2 separate regions of the Homo sapiens genome follow, and region 1 is linked to region 2. Evidence: promoter capture Hi-C in human tissues and cell types (Jung and others, 2019). All regions are on one chromosome and are shown on one strand. Each heading gives the region's core, a stretch centred on a gene start or on the middle of the fragment in contact. The rest is flanking DNA. Distances are from core to core; before and after follow the strand shown. Region 1 overlaps GIGYF2 (GRB10 interacting GYF protein 2). Region 2 holds the start of KCNJ13 (potassium inwardly rectifying channel subfamily J member 13).

Evidence for each region. The method cuts DNA at HindIII sites, captures the fragments that hold promoters and counts their contacts. A contact is called where the count stands out against the background at its distance.
Region 1: a fragment that was not itself captured here is called in contact with the fragment with the promoter of KCNJ13 in region 2 in 1 of the 25 tissues and cell types used here (adrenal gland).

What each region holds. Positions count from the first base shown.
Region 1 is chr2:232,730,778-232,735,072 of GRCh38, forward strand. All of the region lies in intron 2 of GIGYF2 (GRB10 interacting GYF protein 2), which reads left to right. Among named protein-coding and RNA genes, the nearest start is that of GIGYF2, 36 kb to the left of the region's middle. The HindIII fragment of the contact is 4,206 bases long and covers 713-4,295 here.
Region 2 is chr2:232,774,223-232,778,334 of GRCh38, forward strand. It overlaps KCNJ13 (potassium inwardly rectifying channel subfamily J member 13), which reads right to left and starts at 2,343. Exons shown (of 3, transcript NM_002242.4): 1 at 2,223-2,343. The region is part of intron 8 of GIGYF2 (GRB10 interacting GYF protein 2); the gene reads left to right. The HindIII fragment of the contact is 9,389 bases long and covers 1-4,112 here.

The DNA.
Region 1 (4,295 bases), core at 1,566-4,065, 43 kb before region 2:
GTCCCAGCTACTTGGGAGGCTGAGGCAGGAGAATGGCGTGAACCCGGGAGGCGGAGCTTGCAGTGAGCCGAGATCCCGCCACTGCACTCCAGCCTGGGCGACAGAGCGAGACTCCGTCTCAAAAAAAAAAAAAAAAAAAAAAAAAGAAATCTTTACATTAGGAAATAATTTTCTTACAGAAACCATGTTGTAAATGGTAGTTGGGTTCCCAGCTCAAGACATTAAAAAATCTTCTGAGCTCTTAATGGTTGTACATTGTAGTAGTTTTGTAGTACTCAAAGATTTATAGGTGCAATGATAAAGTGGACCCAAACAGAATTTCCTTGCTTGTTGTTGTTCCTTAGATGCTGCTTGAATCTGGGGCTTCGTTTATATTTCAAGACTGCTGCCTGTAGGAGCTCCATCTGTATCATTTGTGTTAATAGTGACCCTGGAGTTTTGTACTTCCAGAACCTATGTGAGCATATGTGATGGCCTTGTAGTAAGTTAAAGGGGAAAAAATTAAATCACTAACAATGAATTTAGTATTTTCACAAATAGCAAATACTTTGAATTTTAGTTGAGATTTACCTGCTTTATAAATTCAGTCTGATTTAAATCCTGACTTGCTTTATAAATGCAGAGCCATTATTCAATGCTCTAAAATCCTCTACGGGTTTGAGTTTAAAACATTTGGCTAGATGGGGCTTAAAATGGTGGTAAAACCGCTCCTTCAGGATGTTTAGTATTAAAGAAAAACCTTACAATTGATGTGGTCTCTACAGCTCTAGTTGATGTAGTCTCTTCATCTCTGTTTGTCATCCAAGTAGGTCCACATACTTTTAGAAAACACACTGAATTGATTTATGTTACAAAAAGTCATAAGACTGTTGTGTAAGCAGTGATGCCTGTTTTAGTTTAACAGTGGGCACCTTTCCTGGGGTCTGATCATTGCTACCTTGACAAGTCATTCATTTGGAATGTACCATAATTTTAATTGAATCTAACATGTGTCAACTATAAGATTAATCATTTTGTGCATTACTGAGAAAGAAAGGAATACTGCCAAGAAGGCTCCGGCACATCTGGCACAGGCTTTTCTTGTTAGAATTATTTTATATTTTTTAAAAAAGCTCTGTTAAACTTATTTAGCAAATAAGAATGGATTTTTATTAAACAGTGTATCCTTCTATTGCATGTATGAAAATGAAAATAGAAGTAAAATAAATTTGTTAAGATAGTCGTAAGATTTCTGGGTATTTAGAGTCTGACTTTTCTAAATCACTTTTCAACTTGGCATCATAGAAGTCTCCTGCTTTCTTCCTCCCTCTCCCCACCAGTCATGCAAAGTATTGGTGATGCAGTAGTTAAGGGAATTCTCTATTACTCTGTCATCAATTTAAAATTTAGTCGTTTGATGCTTGTGAAGATTTTAAGAGCAATATAAGCTATTTAATTTTTAATCCCTTTTAGTACTTCAGGGCTGCTGCATGTGGTCATATGGGTTGTGCAGTGTCATCAGTATCGGTAGCAAACCATAACAGACTCCATTGGCTTGTGTGTTTTTCCCCCCTTTCTTTCTGAGGTCCTGTAAATCACTTGGAATCATTCTTTGAATGATGAATAGTTACTTCACTAATACTCCATGGCTGTATTTGCTTCTTTTCTGTTATACAATAAATTTAGTTTTGATACAGAATCATATTATTTTGAAGACATTTAAAACAGCGGTTTAAAAAATTGGCCCTTGTTCAGACAGCTGTAACACAACTCGCACCCAGCCAGTAGCAGTTGTAACTTGGCATCAGTTTTAAGATGCATTCTAATTTCAGAGAAATTAAAATGTTAAAAATAGTGTTTTCTTTTTTATTTTAATTTTTTTAATTTTTTTTTTTTTTAATTGAGACAAGGTCTTGCTCTGTTGCCCAGGCTGGAGTGCAGTGGTGCAATCACGACTCATTGTAGTCTCAAGCTCCACAGCATAAGTGATCCTCCCACCTCAGCTGGGACTACAGGCTCGCACCATCATGCCCAGCTAATTTTTATATATTTTTGTGGAGACAGGGTTTTGCCATGTTGCCCAGGCTGGTCTTGAACTTCCGGGCTCAAGCGATCCACCCACCTTGGCCTCCCAAAGTGCTGGGATTACAGGTATGAGCCACCATGCTCGGCAGTTATGTTTTCTTTGAATCACTAGTTGTTTTAAGAGATGAGGAGGGGCGGGGCGCAGTGGCTCACGCCTGTAATCCCAGCACTTTGGGAGACCTAGGCAGGCTGATCACGAGGTCAGGAGATCAAGACCATCCTGGCTAACATGGTGAAACCTTGTCTCTACTAAAAATACAAAAATATTAGCCGGGTGTGGTGGCACGTGCCTGTAGTCCCAGCTACTCGGGAGGCTGAGGCAGGAGAATGGTGTGAACCCGGGAGGCGGAGCTTACAGTGAGCCGTGATCGCGCCACTGTACTCCAGCCTGGGCGACAGAGCGAGACTCTTGTCTCAAAAAAAAAAAAAAAAAAAGTGATGAGGAGGGGACTAAGTTTACCTCAGTTTTAGTCTGGTTTGCACCTTTTGTGTGGTGGGGGAGCAGGGAGTCAGGGTCAAGTAAGAACAGGATAATCTCCCTTGGAGTCTGCTTGGTTGACACAGGGCTGGAAGTACCTTTCAGAAGGAAGGCAGATAAATGAATAGCTGATTATGAAGGTTAACACACTTTTACTTTGCTGTTTCTAAGCTTTAGACATATTTGTAGTTTATTATTTTTTAGATCATTTAAACAGAGGCAACAGGGTGATAAAGGGAGAGAATCCTTAACTTGGTCCCCAGTGCCGTGTGTGATGTATCTTAGAGATATTTTACAGTATACAGTTGTCCCTCAGTATCCATGGGGATTCATTCTAGGATGTCCTTCAGATGTTAAAATCCTTGGATGCTCAAGTCCCTAATGTAAAATGGCATAGTGTTTGCGTATAACCTATGTACATACTTCTATATACTTTAACACCTCTAGATTACTTATAATGCTTAATACAACATAAATGCTGTGTAAATAGTTGTTCTGCTGTATTGTTTAGGGAACAATGACAAGGAAAAGAAGTGTCTATACATGTTGGTACAGACGCAATTAAAAAATTTTTTTCCATCCGAGGTTGGTTGAATCCATGAACCAGAACCCATGGATATGGAGGGCCAGTTATATTTACAATTTTTATAGTATTTTCCATTTTTTTAAGCTCTCATATCTTAAGATTACTTTTGAAATGTCACTTGTGAAATTCATTAGTTTATTATTTTAACTTGACAATCTGAAGCAACTTTTAAAAAATTTATATTTTATTTATTTATTTTAAAACTTTTTTTTTTTTTTTTTTTTTAAAGAGATGGAGTCTCACTATGTTGCCCAATCCAGTCTTGAACTCCTGGGCCCAAGCCGTCTGCCTGGCTTGGCCTCCCAAATTATAAATTTATTTTTATTTGTTTATTTTGTAGAGACAGGGTCTCACTCCATCGTCTAGGCTGGAGTGCAGTGGCAGGACCACAACTCACTGCAGCCCCAAACTCCTGGGCTCAAGTGATCCCTCCACCTCACCCTCCCAGGCAGCTAAGACTACAGGCATGTACCACCATGCCCAGTTGATCTTTAACATTTCTTTTTTTTAGAGACCACGTCTCCACCTCCTGGGCTCCAACGATTCTCCCATCTTGGCCTCCCAAAGCGCTGGATTTACAGGTATGAGCCACCTTGCCTGGTGGTTCCTGGCCTGATCCAAGATAATTTTTAAAAGAAGCAGTAGGCTCGAGAGGCTGAGACAGGAAGATCACTTGAGGTCAGGCCAAGAGTTCGAGACCAGCTTGAGCAACATAGTGATACACACTGTCTGTTAAAAAAAAATCACTAGGGTGTAAAGTGCTAATAAGCAGAAGGTGAGGAGAGTTGTGGCAGAAGCTATGTGATAGGTAAGGAGGGTCCTTATTTTAATAATCTTTGATGTACCTCATGGTGATAGGGGAGTCATTACTAGGAAGTAATATGAACTAAAATGTAAATCTATTACCTTTCATTCACTCCCCATTGTTCCAGGGATAAAGGGAGAAAATCCTTAACTTAGTCTCCAATGCCCTGTGTGGTCTGTTCCTACCTCTCTCACTAGCTTCATCTTAAACTGTGCCTCCTTACCCCAGATTAACATAGAAAGGTGGGGAGTCAGAATATAAGGGTTGATTTATTCATTTCACTTTGCCTGCTATATTATTGTTTTAAGTAGGAATTTCAAAATCTCATTTTTGTGACTCTAGTTGAGAGGAGCATAAATAAA
Region 2 (4,112 bases), core at 1,093-3,592:
ACAGATGTTTGACCCTGCTTAGCCTTTGTGAATAATACAGTTTCATTTGATTAGTTTTGTTCAAGAGCCGCTCCAGAGTGTTTGTTCTTCAGTAATGTTTATTGGGTTCAGACCTATTATTTGTAGGTTAGAAACAGATATTCAGTTAGGAAAGACTTCTTTCAAGACTTGAAGATTATCACAGTCTGAATTATTAGATAGTCCAGTTGTGTTTTGCACATCAGTAAAATTAAAGCAATGTAGAGAGGAGAGTTATGACATAACATTGCCAAGTTTCTGTTTTGCCAGATGAGAAGACAATTTTACAAGTATAATACTGTCATTATAAATAAAATTATGATGACATAATAAAAGATTTTGACACATGGAAGAAGGATATAACAATGAAAGGATAGTTGGTTGCCTTCAAAATGGTGGGTGAACAACTTTGTCATTCTCCACTGTTGTTGCTTCCTGCCTATGTGAAAATGCCCCTCATGCTCCTGGACACTAGTGCTTGTTCCACATTTGGAGCCACTGTCCTACTGAATGCTGCTAAGTGCTTAGTGTTTCACAAAAGCTTGAGAAAGAAAAAACTCCATGATTCTTTTGTATTTTCAACCTATTTTATGAAAGTTCTAAAATTCCTTACTTAGAGCCTTTCTGTATAGACTGTAGCTAACAAAATTCATCATTCTCATTTGGGCTTTTTCAGGACTGTTGTTACTTCTTACCTACAACTTTTGTAGCACTCTTACTCTAGGCTCTTTACAATTGTATTTTTTTTCTCTTGCAACTAAATACATGGAAAAACCTGTGAACAGGGAAGTCAAAAGGCTGATAATCGGAACAGTTAAGCAGCATTTTTTTTTTTTTAACCTAAGACTGCTGGATTTGGTTTGGATTGTGTTGGCAAGTGGAGTAATATAGAGAAGGAAGATTGATTTCTGATTCCCACTTAACCAATTACCCTGAATAACTATTCTGTGGACTCTTATAGTCAGTGTGGTTTAGTGTAGAGAACGCAGGATAAGGGGATATGGCCTTCAGGCTCTAGCACTGTTGGTTACATAGCTGTGTCATTTTGGGCAAACCACTCAATCCCATTGGCCTGGCATCCTTAGATTAAAACAAAGAAAGTGAAAAAAGAGGGAATTATGATAATAAGATTTCTTAAAGCTCTACAGACTTATGTAAACAAACATATTTCCACTTCCTACAAAGGATACAAGTTTCCTATATGATTTCTTTTATTTCTGTATAGTTTGATGTCTGCTCGTATGGTTTAAAAAATTATACTATTGTTACCTGATATTTAAGTCTCATCAGCTGATCCCAATAGAAAGTGAGGTGGAAGGTTGGGAAGGTTTGCTTCTATTGCTGTGTGTGGGCTGTAAAATATTTGCCCATTTATAAATTATTTGGAGGAAAAATAGTACCTATTAAAAAATGATAGGCAGCTTCACTGATCATCAGAATTCATTCTACTCATTGGGTTGTAGCACTTAAAAGTATGTATTTTCTGTTGCCATGATAAAAAATAGTATAGTTCATACTGAGGAGTTAAGATAAAGGCTATAACTAACAAACATTAAATGAAGATGGCATTACTATGTATTTGTTCATGTCTGGTGTAAATACTTTAAGACTATATTGAAAGTCTTATAATGATTTCTCCTGCCCTCCACAATTAGGGCAAACACTATTGAGTTCTAACCCTGTTATATAAGCTCAGAGATTCTATTTTAATTTCTCAGTTGCAGAAGTATCTATTAATTTCCGCAATAATTCCATGCTTAAAAATTTACGATTAGGATACTCATCACTTTCTTCTTAGATTACAGAAGTAAAAACAAAGTGGCTTATTCTTTTGGCATTTGTTTTTTTATGCTCATTTTGGGTTTTTGAAATTCCTTCCAAAAGAAAAAGACTTTTTTTTTCCTCAAGCCACTGAATTTTTTTTCCTAAGGCCTTTATCCTCTACTGATATATTGTAATAGAAAATTAGTATACATTTAATAAAACAGTTAAGAAAATTTCCAGTAATACATTCAATATGGCTGTTATTGCATTTTTAAGATTTAAGGGAAAAGAATATAGAAACCTTACTATCCTACACTATAGATAATGTCTTTGTTTTAAAAATCTGTTGGAAGTAATCTAGCTCTGTTGCTATTTGCCAGTCAGTTTCTTTCCCTGTTTCCCATAAGGAAAGAAGAATGGATATTATTGCATGTACTCACCAGTTCTTTTGCTGGGTCAGCCTTTATGCCAAGGTAGGTCTTAAGGAAATTTACAGAGTCTGCCTTTTTGATCAGATAATTTTAATCTACAAGTCTAGTTTGTAGGTTCTCTTCTTGGACTGGTTTTACAGCTTACATTCCTCTGTTTATAATGTTGTGGGGGCTGGTTTCAGCTGAGGTTGATGTGATTGGTCACTTAGCCTGCAGGGGGGCCAATTAGCTCTGATCATGTGGAAAAGAATGCTGGTTTGTTAGGAGGTCTTTCTTTACCCAACACAAACCTTAACAACTCTGGAGAAAGCCTCCAGAACTGACTTGGAGAAGGGGTGCATTTTTTCCCTCTAATCAGGACCGGTCTTTAGTAAGTTTGCATAATCTTACTTAAGAGTTTTTTTGAAAGTTCAAAGGGATAAAATTCCCTGCAAGATTTTTCAGCCGTCTTTCCTTATATAGCATGTTGAAGTGTGAGATATTTCCTTTACTAATCTTTTTTTTTTTCCACCATGTCTTTGGGGAAGATTTATTTGGATAAGGACTTATAGGCATAAATTAATGCATTGATTTTCTTAGTTTTCTTCTCATGTCTCATCAGAATGGCTACCATTAGTTCCAGAACTAGTAATATAGATAATTACGTGAAATCTTTTATTTTTTTGGTTAGGAAACAAACTTTTTTTTTTTAAAGGCTGTATACAAAGACCTTGAATAGGAATAAAATTAATTGTTCTGTACCTGATACTTTAAAAAATGCACACCTGTGGGAAAGAACCGAAGAATTTTCTTAAGGCTTATTTTAATGATGTTTAGAAGATGTTTTCCTGATCAGTGTGATGAAGTATAGTGTTAATAAAACATAGTGTACAGTGTACAGAAAATGTAACACAACATTGAAATAGTGTTTAGCTGGAAAATGTGATCCAGCTTGTTGGAACCCTGAAACGTGCTGTGGTATGGCTTTGTGCAGTGCCTTAGTGAACAGTACTTTTCTCCTCCTCCGTTAGCTGCTGATTTTAAAACTTTGACCAAATGTCACATGTAAGAGGATCTGAGAAACAAAGACTGTGATTGTTCAAAGTAAAATCTTGGAAGGCCTGCTGGGAAAATTATTAATGTAGACCAATATAATGCTACTTAGAAAGTGAAATCCGCCTTTGTAGAATCCTCTCCGTCCCCCCCCCGCCCCACAATTTAAAAAATATATTAATTCCTTCTTTGTTTTATTAGTACCAAATACTTCAACACAAGTTCAGACACAGCATTAGAAACACTGACCTTCAGAACTAGGGAAGGTAAAGTATAAAGAAGGATTTGTGGTGTGATGCTCATTCCCTGCATGTACTGGTAGGAATTATAATGTGTATCAATTCCCAGCTAACAAATTGCAGAAAAACAGAACAACACAACAACAAAATACTAGAACAAGTATAGTATAATACTGCTTCTAGAAAGCAGAAGCACTTGAGTGTATCTGTCATGTGTTTTGAATATACATTGTATATTTTTTATTTTCATTTTTTTTAGACATAGAGTCTTGCTGTGTCACCCAGGCTGGAGTGCAGTGGTGTGATCACAGCTCACTGCAGCCTCGACCTCCCAGGCTCAAGTGATCCTCCCACCTCATCCCCCACCCCCTGCAGTAATGCCACCACATCTGGCTAATTTTTTATTTTTTGTAGAGGCAGGGTCTTGCTGTGTTGTCTAGGCTGGTCTTGAACTCCTGGGCTCAAGCTGTCCTCTCAATTCAGCCTCCCAAATTCCTGGGATTACAGGCATGAGCCACTTCACCTGGCCTGAGAATACATATTATAGTAGGCAAGACAGTTAAGGATTTTATTAAACTTAAAAGTCTTTTTCCATAGTATACTTGGTTTCAATATATTGAGACAAAAA